Regions from separate parts of the Homo sapiens genome. Here regions 1, 2, 3, 5 and 6 are each linked to region 4. Evidence: promoter capture Hi-C in 16 types of primary human blood cells and fetal thymus (Javierre and others, 2016). All regions are on one chromosome and are shown on one strand. Each heading gives the region's core, a stretch centred on a gene start or on the middle of the fragment in contact. The rest is flanking DNA. Distances are from core to core; before and after follow the strand shown.

Evidence for each region. Contacts are between HindIII fragments. The CHiCAGO score rates a contact against its expected background, and 5 or more counts as called.
Region 1: a fragment that was not itself captured here is called in contact with the fragment with the promoter of KCTD3 in region 4 in 1 of 17 cell types (M2 macrophages); the score reaches 7.0 in M2 macrophages.
Region 2: a contact is called between a fragment that was not itself captured here and the fragment with the promoter of KCTD3 in region 4, in 1 of 17 cell types (M2 macrophages). The highest score is 5.2, in M2 macrophages.
Region 3: a contact is called between a fragment that was not itself captured here and the fragment with the promoter of KCTD3 in region 4, in 2 of 17 cell types (M2 macrophages and M1 macrophages). The highest score is 6.1, in M2 macrophages.
Region 5: a contact is called between a fragment that was not itself captured here and the fragment with the promoter of KCTD3 in region 4, in 1 of 17 cell types (M0 macrophages). The highest score is 5.4, in M0 macrophages.
Region 6: a fragment that was not itself captured here is called in contact with the fragment with the promoter of KCTD3 in region 4 in 1 of 17 cell types (M2 macrophages); the score reaches 5.4 in M2 macrophages.

What each region holds. Positions count from the first base shown.
Region 1 is chr1:214,292,102-214,295,850 of GRCh38, forward strand. The region is part of intron 1 of SMYD2 (SET and MYND domain containing 2); the gene reads left to right. Among named protein-coding and RNA genes, the nearest start is that of SMYD2, 13 kb to the left of the region's middle. The HindIII fragment of the contact is 2,030 bases long and covers 1,256-3,285 here.
Region 2 is chr1:214,272,238-214,275,618 of GRCh38, forward strand. The region is part of intron 1 of LOC124904509 (a long non-coding RNA gene); the gene reads right to left. Among named protein-coding and RNA genes, the nearest start is that of SMYD2, 7.2 kb to the right of the region's middle. The HindIII fragment of the contact is 3,639 bases long and covers 1-3,381 here.
Region 3 is chr1:214,327,185-214,330,543 of GRCh38, forward strand. It overlaps SMYD2 (SET and MYND domain containing 2), which reads left to right. Exons shown (of 12, transcript NM_020197.3): 7 at 438-540; 8 at 2,984-3,094. Among named protein-coding and RNA genes, the nearest start is that of SMYD2, 48 kb to the left of the region's middle. RefSeq lists a silencer at 1,662-1,956 and an enhancer at 1,883-1,972. The HindIII fragment of the contact is 1,021 bases long and covers 816-1,836 here.
Region 4 is chr1:215,565,175-215,568,770 of GRCh38, forward strand. KCTD3 (potassium channel tetramerization domain containing 3) reads left to right here and starts at 2,130. Exons shown (of 18, transcript NM_016121.5): 1 at 2,130-2,594. The coding sequence starts at 2,512. LOC124904599 (a long non-coding RNA gene) reads right to left here and starts at 2,183. Exons shown (of 2, transcript XR_922599.2): 1 at 2,106-2,183; 2 at 1,253-1,960. RefSeq lists a silencer at 2,262-2,531 and an enhancer at 2,344-3,204. The HindIII fragment of the contact is 6,743 bases long and covers 1,154-3,596 here.
Region 5 is chr1:214,308,673-214,312,273 of GRCh38, forward strand. All of the region lies in intron 2 of SMYD2 (SET and MYND domain containing 2), which reads left to right. Among named protein-coding and RNA genes, the nearest start is that of SMYD2, 29 kb to the left of the region's middle. The HindIII fragment of the contact is 1,835 bases long and covers 862-2,696 here.
Region 6 is chr1:214,209,382-214,212,643 of GRCh38, forward strand. No RefSeq gene overlaps it. Among named protein-coding and RNA genes, the nearest start is that of SMYD2, 70 kb to the right of the region's middle. The HindIII fragment of the contact is 6,664 bases long and covers 1-3,262 here.

The DNA.
Region 1 (3,749 bases), core at 1,021-3,520, 1.3 Mb before region 4:
GAGAGAGAGAGAGAGAGAGAAGCCCACCTCTCTTGATCTTCTCTGTCTGTGAATCTGAGGACGCCCCTGATAGAACTCCATGGTAGAGTCGGGGCTTCCTGATGGACACCCTCAGGCCAAGCCTCAGGAGCCATATCTGAGTCTAGCTTGCTCTGCTGTGTTATTTTCACTCTGGTCATCCTAAATTGTTTATAGTAATGAATGCACACATATACACACATGCACACACATATATGCACCTTGCTGATTCTCCTCTCTATGTCCCTCTTTGCCTGGCTCACTCCTTTGGTTCTGAGAAATCTGTCCTGATTTCTGCAGTCTGGATTAGTTCCCTTCGTCTTTGCTCCCACAGCACCTCATACAAACTTCCTTTATCACACTTGCTCCTTGAATGCATGAACTAGGTCTTACTCATCTTTGTAACCCCAGCGTTTAGCAAGAAGACTAGCCTCTGTTACTGCAATAAATATTTGCGAAATATATTAGTCTCATTTCTGCATCTTATCTTACTAGTGGCCCTTTGCATAGGCCTCATCACCTCTCTTAATATGCAACTGTTCATTCTTGGAAATGAATCCTTGTAAATACTCTCAGAACTCTTCATTGACTCCCTGCTTTCTTCAGGACAAGTTCCCTACTAAGTGCCCCTCCCATCGTATCCAGCATTATCCCTCACTGCATTTTGACTTAGACTCCAAGTTCAATTTGGGTGGTCTTTGCAAAGCTGAAGAATGTCATTCTTCATTCTTCCTATTGTCTATTTGTCATCTAGAGTACTTTTCTCTGTAATATTTCCTTCCTTATCCTCTGCCTCCTTCCTAGGTAAGGCCTTAGAGCCTTCAGTTTGTTTATACTCAAGAAAGATCCAGCTCAAATTGCATCTCTTTCCAAAGCTTTATCTTTTTCTGTTTGTGTGTGTGTGTGTGTGTGTGTGTGTGTGTGTGTGTGTGTGTGTGTGTGTGTGTGTTTGAGACAGAGTCTCTCTCTGTCACCCAGGCTGGAGTGCAATAGCACGATCTCTGCTCATTGCAACCTCCGCCTCCCAGGTCCAAGCGATTCTCCCGCTTCAGTCTCCTGAGTAGCTGGGATTACAGTCGCTTGCCACCACGTCTGGCTAATTTTTATATTTTTTCATAGAGATGGGGTTTCACCATGTTGGCCAGGCTGGTCTCGAACTCCCGACCTCAGGTGATCTACCCACCTTGGCCTCTCAAAGTGCTGGGATGATAGGCATGAGCCACCGCACCCGGTCCAAAGCTTTTTCTTAACTACTTCAGCCCACACAGCTTTCATTTTATTTATCGACTTGTTTGTATTTATTTTACAATAATTTAATATTTACATTTTTTGAACATCCTACTATTCCAAGCATTGTGCTCTCACTGTGGAGTTTCAGAGATGAATAAGACAACATGCTCAGTAAGTGCTATTTCCCTAACTTCTGTATCTTCAAAGAGCTCAGTCCTAGGGGTAGCTTTCTGCTCTCAGTTCCAGGTCGTGTGGGCCATTTGGATGCTGAATCATTTTGCCTGATATTTATATTTACCACTCTCATGTAGGCAGGGCAGATTTCCCCAAATAACTCTTTTTTTGAGATGGAGTTTTGCTCTTGTTGCCCAGGCTGGAGTGCAATGGCGCGATCTCGGCTCACTGCAACCTCCGCCTCCCAGGTTCAAGCATTTCTCCTGCCTCCGCCTCCCGAGTAGCTAGGATTACAGGCACCCGCCACCACGCCCAGTTAATTTTGTATTTTTACTAGTGACGGGGTTTCTCCATGTTGGTCTGGCTGGTTTTGAACTCCTGACCTTAGGTGATCCGCCTGCCTCGGCCTCCCAAAGTGCTGGGATTACAGGCATGAGCCACCGTGCCCAGCCACTCATTTTTTTTTTTTTAACAAAAATATTATTTCCCAGTATGGCTGTAGCACAGTACTTTTGTACCTAGCAAATAACACTTTTGAATAGAAATTACTTAGCTATGATAGATTAACATGTCTTCTTACTGCCTCATGTGCAAGGTTTTACAGTATTAAAAATGTTCTCCGTTCAGAGAAATACAAATGGAATCAATAAGGATTGAAAGAAAAATGTCTGCTAAATCTGTTCAAACGGTATCCGATCAGTTTAAGTTTTCAAGGTAAAGTCCACAATTCGGGGTAATTCGCCTAAACAAATTGGTAATTCAATTTTTTATATTTTGTTTGCAGGAAAATAAAACTGAGGGGATGAGAGAATCTCAACTCTTAAAATTCTTCTGTAGGCAATTAAAAAGATAACATTTTCCAGGCCAGGCGCGGTGGCTTACGCCTATATTCCCAACACTTTGGGAGGCCAAGACGGGCGGATGGCTTGAGGACAGGAGTTCAAGCCCAGCCTGGCCAACATGGTGAAACCCCGTCTCTACTAAAAATACAAAAATTAGCTGGGCGTGGTGGTTCATGTCTGTAATTAATCCCAGCTGCTTGGAGGCTGAGGCAGGAGAATCTCTTGAACCCGGGAGGCAGAGGTTGTAGTGATCCAAGATTGTGCCACCGCACTCCAGCCTAGGTGACAGAGCAAGACCCTCTCTCAAACAAACAAACAAAAAACACACATTTTCCTGTAAGTAAGATTCAGAACAGTTCTGTCTGGACAGGTAGTTAACACATGTTTTGCTGCAGCAGACCTGACCATGTTCTGGGAACTCACAATTAGCATTAGACTATAAAGGAATTTTTACCATGGTTTATTTCTGTTTTACGGACAGAACGTTGAAGTGAGGAATACTGTTAGGAGTATTTTAAGTTTTCAAGTAGTTAAATTTATATTACTTTGGTTTTGTCATTTTCTTTGATTTTTAATCACGTGAGTTTTATGCAACAGCAAGCATAGGGGAATCTAATAATATTGGTATTCATTACAAAGTACTAATAGTAACATCTGTCATTTAACTGGAAGAAGCGGTGGATATTATTTTATTGTCAGTTCCTTTATGAGAGAACTGAGTTAGAAAGGCATTCGTTGTTTCTTTGCTTTTGACTTTTCAATCAGAGGGCATTAGAGAAGTAAAGATAAAAGTAGCAAGGAAGTGTTACTCTGACCTTGCACAAAAGTTAAGACAGAGCATTTCCAGAGGAAAACATGAGATTTTAAAAGTGTGTACATTCATTCTTTGGACGAGCTTTAACTGTTAGAGATTGTGCAGGGCCTACAAGAGGAGCTTCGGATATAGGTGTTGTCCAGGGGCTGAAAAGGAAATGTAATGTTCACTGTTTCACAGGCTAAATATTTCTCTCCTATATTCATAAGCTTCATGAATTTTTTTTGCTTTCTAAGGCAAAGGTAAATTTTGTCTGGGCCAGAGCCTGCATGAAAACAAATCTGTGTTATTTTATAACTAGGTCAGCCATTACTCTGACCACCAAGCCCAGCTTCCTCCTTGTAAATTACAGCTCCGGTTCCAATAGTTGGGAAAACCTATTAGTTGCTACCTTACTGCCCTAAATATTTCCTGCCTCCCCAAGAGGATGCGGGCTCTAACTTTTAACAAGCCTCAGAACAAAGCCTGGTGCTGAGCGAAGGTTCAGCACAGCCCTGGGAAGAAGCCCCCCGCTGCACGTGGGTCCCGTTCACTGTTACATTGTGGATTAAAGTGATGTATGGAGCACCTTTCAGTATTACAGAAAAACCTGTAGCCTGAGTATTATCCTTGTCCCCTGACCAGGGTTATAATAGGGTTCTGCCACAATTCCTCCAATTTTTATTTCTCTT
Region 2 (3,381 bases), core at 335-2,834, 1.3 Mb before region 4:
CACTTCAGCCTGGAAGCAAAGGTTTTTTTCTGTTCAAGTCCACAACTTTTGCTTGCCAGTGAGATGGCAGAGCATTACGTGGGTGCCTTTTGGCCATCTGGATCCATAGGCACCCGAAGACAACACTAATTCCATGATTAGGAAACTCTCATCACTTCTACTAACATAATTGTTTTTTAACTACTTCAGAATAGATTCTGATGAATAAAGCTACTGATCTCTTTAAACACTTCATAGATTCACTACCTAGAATTATGTATTCATTCTTTGGATATGGTGTCATAAAGTCTAGGTACAAGTTCAAAAACATGCCCCGTGTAACATACTTGTTAAAATCCAGTGTCACCTCCCATCAAAGCCTGATCAGCAATTTCAGTACCTCAATCACTCAGAAAATATTTCCAAATTTAACACATAGCAAGTATCAAGCTCTCCACTAAGAAGACTATGAAATAAATACAATATACAGTATTTCCCTTTGAAGACCTTTTAACTTACATGGGACTACACAAAAGTGTGTGTGTGTGTGTGTGTGTGTGTGTGTGTGTGTTTATGGTTGATGATCATAAGCCAACAAGGTACAGATAAGACTTACTTTAGGAAGTAGGGACTGTTATGGAAGAAATGTTTGGAGAAGGCTTCACAACATAGATAGAACTCAAGATGTGTACGACAGCTAAGGTTTGGGTTTTCAAAGCCAAAAAGAGAGCTTGGCCTTGATGAGGCATCTAATAAAGGGCAACTGGGAGTTTTTCAACGAAATGTCACTATTAATGTAGTTATTTTAAGACTATGTGTTTGACAGCAGTAACAAAGGCATATAGAATAGGGAGACCTGAATGATGACGCTCATCTGTAAACTTGTGTATTTAAGAAACTGTGATAATTTTCATTATGAGTGTTCATTTTCCCTGGGTGGTAGAGATGTCATCTTGGTCAGTTTCCTGGGGTTGCTTCTTGCACTTGGCTGGCACAGTGATGCTAAGGCAGTGAGTGCTTGGCTGGGGTTGGAACACCTGGTCCTTGATCATCAATCCACACAGATCTCTGGGTCATCACAATGGTGCTCTTGGATGGTGTCTTGGTCTGTTCTGGTTGCTGTAACAAAATGCCACAGCTATTTCTCACAGTTTGGGGAAGAGAGATCAAGGCACCAGCAGATTCAGTGTCTGGTGAGGGCCTATTCCTAATACATACTGTCTTTCTGCCTCACAATGTGAGAGGCCAAACAAGCTCCCTTGGCCATTTTAATTTTTATTTTATTTACTTTTTTTGAGATAGAGTCTTGCTCTGTCACGCAGGCTGGAATGCAGTGGCGGGATCTCAGCTCACTGCAACCTCCGCCTCCCAGCTTCAAGTAATTCTCCTGCCTCAGCCTCCTGAATAGCTGGAATTACAAGCACCTGCCACCACGCCCAGCTAATTTTTGTATTTTTAGTAGAGACAGGGTTTCACCATGTTGGCCAGTCTGGTCTTGAACTCCTGACCTCGTGATCCACCCGTCTCGGCCTCCCAAAGTGCTGGGATTACAGGCGTGAGCCACCGCACCCGGCCACCTTGGCCGTTTTTATAAGGGCCCTAATCCCATTCATGAGGCCCATGCCCTCACAGTCTAATCATCTCCCAAAGGCCCCGATTCTTAATATCACCATGTTGGAGGTTAGGATTTCAACATATGAATTTGGTGGGGAAAAGGGGGTGAGCGGGAGTGGCACAAACATTTCAGATCACAGCAGATGGCTAACTTGTCTACTCTAGTGCTCCTCTTGGGTGCATGGGAAATCACTCTCCTATTTCCCATGAAGTATTTCAGTCATTTCTCCCACACACTGAATTTCTATTACACAGGGAGTCTGGGGGTCAATGTAAAACTAGGACATAGGTCAGCCTTGTTCTGAATCCCCTCAAACCCATGGGCGGGGTTGGGTTTAGTTATGTTGTCTCACTCATCCAAGGTTCAGTCTGGAAGGAAACTATGGCACATGCCTCTTTCTCAGAGAAATACCCTCAACTTCTCTCTGGCTTTCCTTCCAATTCTCCTTTATCACAGGTCTGGAGAATCTTTTCTGGCAGAGGGAGTTGTGGCTCCTGCATCATCCTGAATTTGCTAGGACTGGAGCCCTGAGTCCCCCAAGTCCTTAGGCTTTTGCAATCCAAAACCCTAGGCTTTTGAATCTAAATTCAGGGGACTTTTTGCTCCTATTCTGCAATATCATTTCTTCTCTAAGTCAATGCCACTGACTAAGTGGGAAGTTAACGGTAAGGGGTAAGAGGAAACACAGAGTTGGAATGTATGATCCCAGGCTAATATCTCAAAATTTGAACTCACTCTGCTGTTGAGAGTCTACTGCACAAAACCGGACATAAAGACTTAAGGGCTGAGTGGCATTAAGAATGGAAATAAAAGATTAGACAAGAGATATGGCGAATGAAGAAATAACAAAATCTTGTTTGGGGAATAAACACAAGGCTCAAGTGGGGGGCGGGGGGGAATGAACTGGAAGGACTGGATGGAGGTGATGATGTCAGTTGTCCTTGGACATATTTTTTATGGTTCATATTCCCTCTCCTTTCTCTTCACTCGCCCCAATTACCGTGTCCTGTTAATTAAAAGTTCTTCAAATCCATGTCCCTCCTTCCCATTGCCACCGTCACTGCCCTTGTTCATTCCAGTAACATCTCTCCTCTGGACCCTTTATTGCATCAGGCGCCTCAGTTCCCTCTGTCTCCTCAGCCCCTTCTAGTGTATTCTCTATTTAGCTAAAAAATGAACTTTCTACAGCAAAACTCGGATCATGTCAGCCAAAATTCTTCTGACTCACGTGCCTACACAGTGCCGTCTAGCTCCTAGGCTCATGGGTTTCATGATGGGGCCCACTCCTGCCCATCCACCTTCATCCCAAGTACTCTAAGGAAAGCTGTAGCTCTGGCTGAACAGAGAGGCAGCATGGTGGAGTGGTTCTGAGCCTGGACTCACTGCTAGACAGCTTGTTCATACATGTCACTTCTGTGATTCTGTGTCTGGAATTTATTCCTTCCGGTGGGTTCTTGGTCTCGCTGACTTCAAGAATGAAGCTGCAGACCCTCGCCATGAGTGTTACAGTTCTTAAAGATGGTGTGTCCGGAGTTTGTTCCTTCAGATGTTCAGATGTGTCTGGAGTTTCTTCCTGGGGTAGGTGCATGGTCTCGCTGACTTCAGGGGTGAAGCCACAGACCTTCGCAGTCAGTGTTACAGCTCTTAAAGGTGGCGCGTCCGGAGTTGTTTGTTCCTCCTGGTGGGTTCATGGTCTCGCTGACTTCAGGAATGAAGCCGCAGACCCTTGCAGTGAGTGTTACAGCTCATAAAGGTAGTGCACATCCAGAGTCAGGAGCAGCAAGATT
Region 3 (3,359 bases), core at 76-2,575, 1.2 Mb before region 4:
CATTTCTCAACATCTGAAAAAAACGTGAGAAATAATCCACTAATACAAAAAGCTGCTTGAAAGCGACAACGCACCTGTGTTTGACAGTGTATAGTGAAGTAGCAATTAGCTGTGGGTATTGGGTTCTGAGAGCTGCATTCTATCAGGGAGGAATATTTGTGGCATTTGTTGTTTTTGCTGTTGTGTGTTTTTTGGTTTTGGCTTAGATAGTACTTGAATTGTGGATTTCAGTTTTTAATATGGTGAAAGTGTGAGATGGTAGATAGGATTATCAGTGCATGCAGAACAACCTCTTAGAATGTGATAGCCAACTATTAGATTTTTAAAAAATGTCTTGCAAAGATTCAGTTCCTCTGACTTAGCAAGTAAGTAGTGAAGGAAGCTAAACAGTCTGCCTATCTCATTTTAAAAACTGGGTTTTCTCTTCTGACTGACAGTGTTGCATTGATGAATCATAGCTGTTGCCCCAATGTCATTGTGACCTACAAAGGGACCCTGGCAGAAGTCAGAGCTGTACAGGAAATCAAGCCGGGAGAGGAGGTGAGTTCATGGCTATGGGTGGCTGCAGCAGGGGGCTTGAGACTGCTCTTTAAAAGGCAATGTGGACAGATCTGTGCAGTGTCACTTGACAGTATGAGTTGTGAATGCCTCCAGCAGTTTAGCTGAGTCTGCCCTCAGGCTCTCCAGGAGTCAGTGATCAGATTTGTAACCTGTAGTTTAGATTCCCACACTTTGGGGCTTCTGTTTGGTACATACATTTCCATCTCTGGTCAAGAAAAACAGGAAGTAATAAATTTGAGTCAAATTTGTCCCAAAGCTTTATAGAGATTTACAGAGAAAGAAGACATTTACTACCAAAATGACCACAGTCAAACTTTTGATTATCTTTAGAGTCTCTGTATCCCTATTGCCAAACAACTGAGCTTGAGCCTTATTTTATTTTATTTTTTTTGGTGAATTCTTGCTTGTTCCCCACCATCCCTCAAAGGTCCAAAGCAAAAGAAAGCAAGCAACGCAGCAGTAGCTAAAGAGCTGGCACTCCAAGGGACACATCAGAATTTCGTGTTCTATCAGTTCCACATCTGAACTTCAGGTCGCAGTTCACTTTTTAGGAATCTAAATCAAAAGTCCAGGTATATGCAGTAATAGGAGAAGTCAAGGCAGTCTGTGGCCAAGGGGCACCTTAGTTTCCCTCCTCAGCTTCAGGACGTGGAGAGAACCAGTCTTCCCATCACCTGCTCAGCGATTCCCTGTTCCCTTCCCATGTGTGATTCCTGACTACCTCATGAGACGTCTCACCTGGGAAGGGCTGGCCTGATGGATTGCTGTAGTATGCTCTGTGTTCTTAAGTAAATTCCCAGCAAGACACATGAGTTTTTAGGAACTTGTAATCACACTTGGGTTAATTTCAGTTTAGCAATTTGTAATGCTATTTTACGGTGCATGCCTGGGTATTTGAAGTGTGAAGTGTAAAATATAACTGTCAGCGTGCTGAATGACAAGTGCTTTGCTTTCTCTGGAAGGCACTCACTAATCCACAGCTGCACTGGGAGCTGAAGCCCAAGATGCAGGCAGGTTGGCCCTTCTACCTTCAGCTAAATCCATTACGATGAGGGTGTGTCCCCTTTCGGCTGGGGTGTCTGAGTTTCCAAAGGTCTTATGGAGACTGCTCTGAAGCCTTTCTTGAAACAGATAATTGCAGCCAGTCAGAATGCAGTCACCCAGGCTCCAGTGCACCTGTGGGCTGACTGCAGAGATGAGCAGGTTGTCACCTAAGCTGGCTCAGTCTGGCTGGGAGCAGTGGTACTGGAGTGGCCTTTGTCGCCATCTTCTGGAAGCTTCCGCATGTTGCACTGTGAGTCAGTCATTACAGAGATTGTTGGCAGGCTCTTGTGGTGTGAGGCAGGGCAGGGGTGGCTGCAGTTTCCTTTTGCCCTTATGTTCTCCCAGATCTGAAACGCAGTAACCTCATTTTTGGGAAGTCAGTGCTTTGGGGATTACTTACCCTTCAGAGAAGGAGAAACCCCATTCCCCAGGGTTTCGGGGTGAGCTGCAACGTGTCCAGTACCTCCCCATGGGCTGGGGAGAGCTTAGCTGCCCCTGCAGCACCCAGCCCTGTGCGTGTCCTCCCCTGCCTGCCTGGTGGTGCCCGTGGTCACTGGCACGCTAGCGGCTTCATGAGATCCATCTGTTCAGTCAGACATTTGCCTGATTGTGTGGGATGAGTAGCCAGTGCTGTCCCAGTGAGTAGATAATGGACATCTAAATGCTGGTCTCCTCCATATGCTCCAAGCCTTAGTTACAGACCCCATTAGGAAAAGGCAAGGACGGTGGAGCCCCATGAACCAAAGGTAAGGACTTTCCAAGCTCGCTGCCCTGCAGGATCAGGAGCTGCCCGCTGGGCCAGGCCGCAGCATTCTGGTGTCCTAGAAGATGTGTTCACCCTCCGCTGGCCACCCAGAGCTGTGGGTCCCAGCCCACTGAGTGGAGCCTCTTGCTCCATTGCCAGTTGATGTGAGGAGAAGGGGAGCTTAGCTGCATGTGTGTGGTGTGTGCGTGCTCATGCCCTCCCCTGCACGCAGCATCCAGTGATGACGGCAACGAAGCATTTGCGCCGTCTCAGGTGGTGAAACATGAAACTACATGAAGGCCAGGCAGAGGCAGCTGAGGGAGGCAGGGATCCTCTGAACCCTCCAGGACACTGTTTTAAGGACTCCTTGATTCTACAGACTCTTTCCACTAACCTGCACCTTGGCTTCAGCTCCCAGTTCAGCTGTGGATTAGTGAACACCTTCCAGAGAAAGCCAACGTCAGGTGGCTGCTCAGTTCAGGAATTCCGTGCCTTAAAGTAAACAGCGCATTCCTCCGCTGCAGCCCGCCTTATCCTCTGCATGGGCCCTGCAGGTGACTGCAAAGGCACGGGAATGACAAGGATTGAGTTTACCTGTAGCAGACTGAAGCTTTATCTTTTTGGACCCCGTAGGTTTTTACCAGCTATATTGATCTCCTGTACCCAACGGAAGATAGAAATGACCGGTTAAGAGATTCTTATTTCTTTACCTGTGAGTGCCAGGAGTGTACCACCAAGGACAAGGTAAGGTTGTTCATTGGGCAAGAGCGCTGACTGCACTCTGATCTCAGGACCTCTCTGCTGAAGAGCTTGTCTGACTTGGCGGATCTCCTCTAGGATCTTTTTGACCCTTTAAACCCTCCTTACAAAGACAGCCAAAGGGAATCTAGTTAGACCAGGTCTCTGTTCAGACCTGCTCCTAGTAGCTAAAGAAAACATTTCCATTACACTGTACAAACAGGAGAAAGGTCTGCCGAACTGCTCTTTCTTGAAAAGAAACAACTGCTCA
Region 4 (3,596 bases), core at 880-3,379:
CATTTTAGTGTTTTTATCAATTGGCTGTTGATATTCTTTCCATATTTTTCATTACTTGTTTTCTCAATTTATTTGTAGAATAATATATACATATATGATCAGATATTATATATTTTCAATCATTTGATATATGTTGCAAATATCTTTTCTCATTCTGCTATTTGTTTTTGTTAATGGTGTTCCAATTTATTCTTAAAAATTAAGTCACACCCTAACTTTAAGTTTTATGAGCAAGAAATGCCTCAGATATCTCTATATTGTTCTGGACATATCAAGAAGTCATGACCATTTGTCTTATAAAATACTGAGAACTTTTCCTTCTCTTGAAGAGATGTTCTCCTAATTTTTAAGTACAGTATAATAAAATGAACACGGTTTCATTTATTTCAGGAAAAATAAGAAGCCTTTCACAAATATATATATTTTTAAATTTATAAGGCCTTATTCTAACTCCAACTTGCCTCTTGGATTCAAAGGCTGTTAGCAACTATTCTTTCATATTCTTCCAAGGTTTGGACCTAAGGAAAATTAAATGGCCCTTTTACCACTTAAATCTTCGCTGCAAATTTTAAAGCAAAGTTTCAGATCCTGATAGAACCAGATATTATGTGTTAGGGCAAAGGCAGTTAACATTGTTTAAAGCAAGCTTGTCCAACCTGCAGCCCCATGGGTCGCATGCAGCCCAGGAAAGCTTTGAATGTGGCCCAACACAAATTCATAAACTTTCTTTCTTTCTTTCTTTCTTTTTTTCAGCTCATCAGTTATCGTTAGTGTTAGTGTATTTTATGTGTGGCCAAAGACAATTCATCTTCCAATGTGGCCCAGGAAAGCCAAAAGATTGGACACCCTGGTTTAGATTCCTAGTTGCTGCTGCTTTAATCTGAACTGTTACTCATCTTCCCTGTCTAAAGTGAAGATAATGAGGTACAATGCAGTGGTAAGGATGGTGAACAGTGGCCTTGAATTCAAGCTGCTTGCCTTGAAATTCCTGCCATCCCACTTGCTACCTATGTAATTTTGAGCAAGTTTTTTTGATCATTTTCATTCCCAAATTTCCTTTTTTAAAAATAATTATAACATTAGTTGTGACGAAGAAAGATGACAAAATATCTAAACCACCGGGTATATGATAAACACAAATTAGCTATTATTAAGCTTATCATCAACTGGGAGAAATAATACTTATCTTACATCCATATGTACTATTAACATCTTTCAAGTCGAATCTAGATAGAGCATATCACAACATTAGTATGCTTGCCAGAGGCTATTTTTTATTTTTTTGGTAAAAATTATGACAATGACAATAAAAACTTAACATCAGATACATTATCAGTTTGAATTATTATGATACAACTATGACAAAACAATTCATGTTAAGAATTTAGTACCACAAACTAATGACCTCTGAAACATAACGCACTATCTTTGTTAGTCTTTGTTAGCAGGGCATCAAGTATTATAGTATTCCGATTTAAAAAATATTTTAATAGCCACTAAGGTTTTGGGTTTGAATAGATACCGTTTAAAGCAAAAACAAATAAATAAACAAGCGCATAAAATTGTGTGTTTTCTGCGTGTGTCTAACATTAGTTGAGTGCTTACTATATTCCAGAAATAGGTTGCTGGGCATTACACAGTCTAGGGGTTTTTGTCCTTTGGTTTCCTTCCTGCTTAACAAACAAAAGCAAAAAACAAAACAAAAAAACTGCTTGGGAGATTGGGGATTAAATTGAAGAGGGTAAAGTAAGCAGTTTTCTGGGGTAAACGCTGTAAGGTTTTAAAATCTCCAAATGTTCCCTGCATTTGCACTGTCTACATTTAGGCATCAACTTTTACTACCTCTAGGATTAGTTTTTCCTTTCCCAATCCATGTTGACAAAGTGGGTCATAAAGATCCGTAGATCGTTTGCCCAGATCTGCCCTCAATCTGCGAATCAGCTTCCTCGTTTTAGAAAATCTGAAATGTAAAAGGGAAAGGGGCTGGGATCGCGTGGGGAGGAGGAACGAAATGGAATCCCGCGTGGGCAGGCGGCTGGCCAGGAGCACATTCCCCTAGCCTCCCTACGCGCCAGCCCCGCGGCGTTGGGAAGCTCCTCCCTGACCTTTCCTTCCTCCTCCTCCTCCTCATTCTAGGCGGCAGTGGCGGGCGAAGCGTGAGCGCTGCGGTATTTTGTCCCGAACGGTGACCCCTCCTCCCAGGCAGGCTGCGGCGGCGTCGGTGGCAGCGGAGCACGGAGAAGAGGCCCGGGCGGCCCGGCGGCCTGGAGGCCGCGAAAGGTGGAGGCCGGGCCGCCCTTGTGCACCGCAGGATTGACCCGGGAAGGGGCAGAAGCTAGCGAGCCCCGCCCGGCCGCCGGGAAGGTGGGGGAAGCCCCGTGCACCCCCCGCCCTCCGGCCGCCGCCGCCCCGCTGGCCCTGCAGCCGTCGCCGCTGCCTCGGGCTACAGCCCCGGGCTCGGCGGTCCCGGCTGGGGAAGGAGGGCGGCGAGCGCGTCCGGAGCCGCCGGAGATGGCGGGAGGGCACTGCGGCAGCTTCCCCGCGGCGGCGGCCGGCAGCGGCGAGATCGTCCAACTGAACGTAGGGGGGACCAGGTGAGTCGGCGGGTAGCGGGCTTGCAGCGGGGATGCCTTGGCGGCCTCCTCCTTTGGTGTCGACGGGGACCGAGAGTCGCAGGAACGAGGGCGAGCGTGGGAGGCCAAGCCTGGAGGGGAACGTGGGGGCCTCCAGGCGGCAAGAACGTCGGGCGGATTTTGGAGCTGGTGAAGCATCTGCTCTGGGAAGGGAGAGGCAGAAGGGACGCTTGGAATTACCGAGGACCAGGCCCATGTGGCAGAGTAGCTGCTGTCCTAGAATGCCAACCTTTGCCCCTCCCAACAGGCAAGGAGAACCATTACACAGCCTTCCTTACCTCATCTCAGATTAGAGTGTATTTGAGGACTTTATTTAGTAGAAACCTGGCTTTGTGGTTTGGATGTTGGAGATGAACTTGCTTTCCTTTCTCTTTGGTCAACGAGGTGTCGGTTTTCTTAGGGAAGAGTGCGGTGTTCTTTTCCGCGCCTAATTAGGGGATTTGTAATTTGAAAGATTTCTGTGATGGGAGTGCAGTAGGTTTGCAGTACCTAGTTATTTATTTTCAGAATTTCTTGGTGCATGGGCTTGAAGGATCTGTTCAACTTCTAGGACAGTGTGTCCAGAAACTGCAGTTTGAACATTTGCTTTTAGGAAGCTCTGGATATTGGCACGGTGTGACGCCCTTGGAGTAAACAGACTGAATGCTCTTCTCTGTCTGTTCTCTTTCTGGCCTTCCGCCCCCCCCCCCCCCCGCCCCTTCTGTGCCTGTTATTAAGTTTGTTGGGGGAAAAAATCGTAGTTTTTGTGGATTTCCTATAACTTATGAGTCACTCCTCTCAGAAAAGGGAGTTTGCCAGCTGTTTGAAAGAAGGATTAGTTGAGTTTTAGGCTTGGTAAGGAGATAAACAAGGAAATGCTCTGGAATACAGTTAATTTTTCTGTGCTTGAGAATATGATTTTCAACCAGCATTTTAAAAGTATTTTAATGTCTTAGAACCATAGTGATAAAAAATGTCTACTGT
Region 5 (3,601 bases), core at 529-3,028, 1.3 Mb before region 4:
GTCATCAGGTGGTCAGTGCCACACAGCAGATGGTGGAGTTGGGATGGAGGTTATCGAGTTCAATATGTCAGTAGATAAGAAAACGTAGTCCCAAGTGGTTGGGTGACCCAAGATCACCCAAGGTCAAACAGTGGCAGAACAGAGATGAGACTTTACACACTACTTGGGGAGGGCTTTCACCCCTTTACAGTAGTGTGCTTGGGAGAAGTGAGGGCCCTCTAGGAAAGGAGGTTCTGTGGGAATGTCAGAGAAAGAGAAGTGGCCTTCAGTGGATGTGAAAGGGGAGAGCTGCGTCCATTGTTGCCTTGGCCAGACACCTCTCCAAGAGTGCTAAAGGCTCACATTGCTTCCTGGGGATTTCCTCTTTACATGGAGTAAGGCTTCTTAGGGGATCCTAGCCATGGTGTATGTTCTCCCCAAGCCCTCTTCTGTCTGCAGTGCTTTCGGATTTTGCTTTATTTGATACAATTTGGTTCTATCTTGTCCCGTTACTTTCCTCTTAGTTCACTTGACTCAGTGTGATGGTGCCAGAGGAAAGATTTTAATTGCTAATGCATGAAAGGGTAATGGGAGGAAATACAAAAGAAACAGAAATTCCTTTTTAGTTGGGTGCGTTATTTTGTAACCTGTGTGTTTTAATGAACTGTATTTATTTTTCTAAATACGCCTGGGAAGCAAAGTATATTACTCATTCACCCACTCACCCATAAATTGTACCAGGATATTTTCAAGAGAAGAGTTTTAGAAAGTTGTTATATAGAATAATCATTGTGCAGTAGGACTTTCTAGGGTATATTTCTTAACTCTAATGAATGTAAAGAAGAAAACCTTTGTGTTTTGCTGCTGAGGGGGTTATGAGTAAGCTTTGAAAGTAGGAAGGGATTTTTTAAAGTGTGTATGAGGAGCATGTGAGAAAATAGTAGGCCCTTATCATTGACTAGAAAATAACTGAAGTATAGAACATGTCTAATAAATGCTGCTGTTATGGGTGATTAGTGTAATGGGGCCAGAGTCGTAGGTTCAATCCTGGTTCAGTTCACTCCTGTCAGCCATAGGAAGCATCTTAAATTTGGGCCACTCTTTTTTTCTAAATCTTTAACATCACCAGTAGGAAGAAATGTGTGTGAATGACTGAGTATGTCTCATTGCTTGTATTGGGAAAACACAAAGCATATGTCCTAGTGATGGTAGCTCAGCAGCACGGGCCATCTTTGTATAAGGTGGTCAGGTGTCCACCTGATTGCTTTTGCACACTTCTTCTCAAGGATCATGCTAGTGGAAAGCAGAAATCCTGTGACATTTTCTCCCTGTTCCACATTTTAAGAAATAAGATGTGGATGTGTACAGGTAGGCTGTGTTTGTTGTTAGAAGAATAGAAACACCAAATGCTAGAGGCAGAAAAGGGACTTCATGATGAAAATCCAGTCTCCTTATCGAGGAAGGCAACATATTTGCTCAGCAGAAAACTGGATGCCATAATAATCACTCTTTTCTTCCAGTGCTGGAAATGCTGGTGCACCATGAGACAATTTCGCAACTCTTTATGCATCTTTAAGCATTTTTGACTGTGCACGAAAGTGAAAGTCATGCACAGTAGTTATTATCTTAGTTGAAAATGAATTAGAAGTTTTAAAAGAGGACCATCAGTATGAAAAATTCCATATCTCACCTTTTTTATGGATTTAAGTTACACAGTCTGTCCTCATTATGGGAAAATCAGAAAGTGCAGACTAAAAGAACAGAACAAGTATTCATAATCTTGTTCCTTGAGAGAATACTTTGGTATATATCTTCCTGAATCCCTTCTGTGCTTATATGTGTATTTTATTAATTTTTTTTTTTTTTTTTTGGAAAATGAGATCCTAGTTTACAGAAAATTTTATAAGTATTGCAGTCAGGGCAGGAGCACTAACTCGAATTTTGAAGAATAGTGGGAAAAGTTTTAGAAAAATTGATAACATTTAAAAAAGCATAAAGAGTTGCAAAATCACTCTGTATACAGCAGTACTGCCAGTATTCAAAAATACGGTAATTTATAACATTCATTCCTATTCATCAGGTTAGCCTAATTTGTTTTTCAATTTTGTCCAGTCTGGTTGCTTGTAATTTCTTATGGGCAAAACTAGGGTAGTTGCCGCTGTCAGGTTCTTTAAAATATATGGACCATCTCTATGATAGAAGAGAATGTATCAAAATATGCTTAAAACCTGACATTTTTACTAGATACTATCACATCTTCCTTTTTTAAGAATTAAAGCTGTGCAGTGCCATTGTGTTATATCTCTGCCCTTCCTCCGTTAATCCACCTTCAAAAAAGAAAGTGAAACGTTATTACTGTGGTAAATTTCCTTTGATGAAATTTAACCTGATTCTGCATTTTCTTGAATTTATCCAGCTACCTGATTTTAACTGCTATGAGCGGGACTGTATTTAATTGTAGGTGTACTTTTATCTTGGTTCTGACATTGCCATAAACTGCTTGAAGTCAAAGACTTCATCTCCCATCCCTGCCTCTAGGGTCAGTTGCAGCACTTGTTGAATGAATGAATGAATGAATGAGCAATTACCAATGTTTCAGAGCGCAGCCTGTGCCGGGCACCGTTCTGAGTGCTTCTTGTGGATCTGCTGATGGGATCCTTTGTGCCTGATGAATGCCTGATGATCCCTATTTGGTCCACTTTTGTTGGTAGTCTTCAAGCTTGATATCTGATTATCACTGTTGGAAGGTGTAAACTCACAGACTCAGAATTCTGGACTTGCTAAGTAACTTAGGGATCATGTTATTTACAGCCAGGGAGACAGGCGCAAAGGGATTAAGAAACCTGCGTTGTCACACAGCTGCTTCGCTGCGAGTGGGGATAAAATGCAGGTTTCTTGAGTCCCAGGTCAGCAGCCCTCCTGCTTGACAGCACTCTGCTTTCCTCCCAGAGCTTTCCTTGTGTTTGATTCCCTTCCTTTTGAGGACATTTATATCAATAAATGTCACCATTATGTAGTATTTACAGTACCATTAATTTTAAATCAACTACATTAATAAATTGATATTTTATAAATAATAATTATATTAATAAATGTTCATATTTAACTTCCCAGGAATTCATTGTAGTTGCTAAACACCAAGGCACCACCTGCAGTTCAGAAAACAACAGCTTGCAGGCCCGTTAGGGACAGAGATTATGTCTTGGAGTTTTCTTGGAGTTGCTGGAGTCAGAGTGGGCATTTGTCTATAGTTGTTAATGATCCATCTGTCCCCAGCTGGTAGGTCCCCATATCCTCTCAGGTATCCCGAGGGTCATCTCTGTCTTTTCCTCTTTGCTCTGCAGCTGAGGAGGGAGCTGATTAGTCTGCAGGGAGACAGACCCACCTGTTCCCACCTCTTCGCCTCATCACCATGCTCTCATTTTAGGCTTTGGCTAAAAACAGATTCTCTTCTCCCTTGTGCATATCTTGTCATTTCTTTTCCTCCCTGCTCTTAGTTATATTTGGCGCGGCATTATTTAACTCTGCAGAACATCTTGGCCCAGAACTTGAGCTAAGGGGCTGCACCATAGACTGCATTAAATCATTAAGTGACATTATGTGCTTCCTTCTTGGGGGATCA
Region 6 (3,262 bases), core at 677-3,176, 1.4 Mb before region 4:
CGGGCAGCTTCAAAGGCCTAAGGATTCCTGCGACGAAGGGAGTGCAGCTTCCTCCATGTGAACGATAGGTCACCCTGGGGTGGCCAGCAACTCGCTCAGCTCCTCGTGGCTGCTCTGCCCTGGCTGGGGAAAATGAGTCCCTGCTTTAGAGCCAGAGGAACACAATGACCTCCTTATCCCTTTTTAAACAGCCACTTTCCTTGCAAATCTCTGCTAATAAGCACAGCTTATCTTTATTTACCAGGTAGCTCCTTTCCCTTCTGAGATATCAGAAGGCCCAATGAGAGGAAGCAGAGAGAAAAGGGTTTTCTACAAAGTGACAAGGAGACAGCACTTTTCTGTCTAAAAATACACAGATGTCCTTCTCCTTAGTGGTGCTAACTTGTTATAGATAGTTTGGGGACAGCTTTGAAAAACTTATGAGAATTCCATGTAGCCTGTGATTGGTGGGAGTTCCCACTTAACTGTTCTGTGTTCTTTTCATCTTTCCATCAGCTGAGCTAAACACTGCAAAGCAAAAAAAACTTTAAAACCAATTGGTCTAGCCCCCACCTCTGAGCAGAGTTACACGTAACCATTCAATATTCTTAGATTAAATGACTTTAATAAGCTCTCGTGATTCTACCACTCTAACCCCATAAACCAGGAGTGAAATCCTCAATTCTGAGTTCAGATACTAGGAAATCCTTTTTCTGCAGCACACTTTATGACTTTTATGCATTTTAATTCTAAAATGCTACTTTCCTAATTAAATGTAGTACAATCTTTCCTAATCTTATGTAGTACAATTGCAGCTCAATCATATTTTTGGGGAACTCTAGAATACCCTGGAATATATAAGCCACAGCTATGCATAAATATATATATATATATATAAAAGGATACAGTAAGTTGAGACTCCTGATCTATAAATAAGTCTGTTCACTTGCATAATTATGAGGACTGAACAGGATAAATTTCACTCTTGTAAAAACCAATAGGCCTAGGAAAGACTCAAATCTCTATCTCAGTTTCACAGGGAGCTCTAGGGAAGCACATTCCCAAAGCAGACGTCGTTGGGTAAAAGCCAATGCCCTGCTCTAGGTCAAAATATTGCAAATTTCCTAAGCAAAATTTGTTTCTGTTCTAGAAAAATAGGTTATGTTCACCTGGATCACTTACCAAAGGCTTCTGGGATTCAATGGAATACGAGGACCTACTGAACTGTGAAGTGCTTGAAGGCAGAAAATGTATCATTCATTTTTAAAATCCCTGACATTAAGCATAGGGACTGGTGGTGCTGGTGGTGGTGGTGGTGATGATGATAATGATGATGACGATGATGATAGCAGCAACTGTTCATTGAGCACTTACAATGTGTCAGGGACTTTGCTGTTTCCTTTACATATATTAATTCATTTATAACTCAGTATTATATATACTTATATACTTATATATTTACTACTTACAGTATATATATATAATATATATTATATACATTAATTCATTTATTACTCACAGCAACCTGTGAGCCAGGTACTATTAACAACCCTATCCTACAGATGAGGACACTCGGTAATAAACTCAGAGTTTAAGTAATGGCCAAAGCCAGAGAGTTTAAGTAATGGCCAAAGTCATACCTCTGGTAAATGGTAGAGACAGGATTCAAAGCCAGGTCTTTCTGAACCTGTAAATTGCACTACTCCTGAACCTGTAAATTACACAACTATGACAATATAGCCTGCTACATGGTAAATGTTTAATAAATGTATTTGGACAAAACTGAGCAGGTGTAGTGGAATTGGTGGGATAATTTTCTCCCTACTTTCAATTTCTATCTGACTTGCGCAGGCATTTGTTTGTTACAGACCACATTCTTGTGATTGTTATTGTGATGGTCTTAGTTCTCCAAACTACACTACAAGTCTCTTGAGGGCAAGACAACATATTCTTCACAATAATAATAGATGCTGTATTATGCTCCATGCTTTATACATTTTTAATCCTTATAATGGATCTGAAAGGGATATATTAGCATTTCCATTTTTCGAATGAGGAAACAAATGCAAAGGTGAATGACTTGCCTGTGGCTACCAAGCTAACAGTGGGAGATTCAAACACCTTCTGTCTGCCTCACATTTTTCCACTTTGCTCTGCTGAAAGCCAAACACTTACATTACCCAGCTCTAGAGATTTAGCATGGTCTAGGATACTTGAATATTATTGTCTCAGTTACTCTTCATTCAGAGCTCTCTCTCCTGGCTAGACTGGTGAAAATCATAGAGCTCTGGTAGATGAGGAATAGGGAGGAAAAAGATATCACATTTCTGGTCTGGTTTGGTTCTCTGATCTCATTTGCTTGGATGGGCTACAGAAAATCAGCAGTGGGGGTCGGGGAATTGGGGGCCAAAGTTTAGTTACTTAAGAGAGCTGGACAGAGGAGAAAACCCTCCACTTTCTTTGTCCCATCTGCCACACCCAAGAGCTGGCATCACACCACTGCTGACATGTACAGTGTCTGTTGGCTGGGCTGAGAACCCCATGTAACCTCCACAGCTAAGGTGTCCTTGGGGGATACAGGCCAATTTCTCCAGCAGCCCCAGGTTCCAGAGGGACAATAATGTCTCATCAGGTCCTAACACTGTCATGTGCTACCCCTACTACTGGGGTTAGAATGTTTCACTAGGATCCATAATATCTCCTAGCTATGTAGTCTCACCTCCCTACAAATCTGAGATATGGTTTCTGACACAAGGGAAGGGTATCTGTTAGACTGTAAAGATGTACCACTTTTATTCTCAGCTAGAGGCCTTCTCTTTGGGGTGATGACCAGCTAGTAGCTGCAGGTGTGGGAAAGGGTTGCCTTTTCTTGATACTTGGCCACCTTTTACGAAAGAATGCAAAAGTGAGCCTAAAGACAATAAATATTAGATAGAAGAATAGATTCCTAAGAATATATTCCTTTCTAATATTAGAAAGAGGAATAGATTCCTTGGCCAGTCAGCCTCTGTATGTCTGAAATCACCCAAAGAGTTCTACTTAAAAAAAAATGTTTAGATTGAGTTATCCAGTTAAAATCAAACTCTCCAGGCTGACTGATATCAATGGCTCATATGTGCAATTGGCTTTCCTCCTGGTTGTAAGCAAGAGGACAAGGACCACATCTTCCCTGTGCACCCAGCATAACATGGCCCCTAGCAGGTGCTCCATAGGCACTTGTTGTACACATGTACAACAGTAATTATGGCTTGTTGTAATTATTCAACTTGTTGAATGAAGGTTG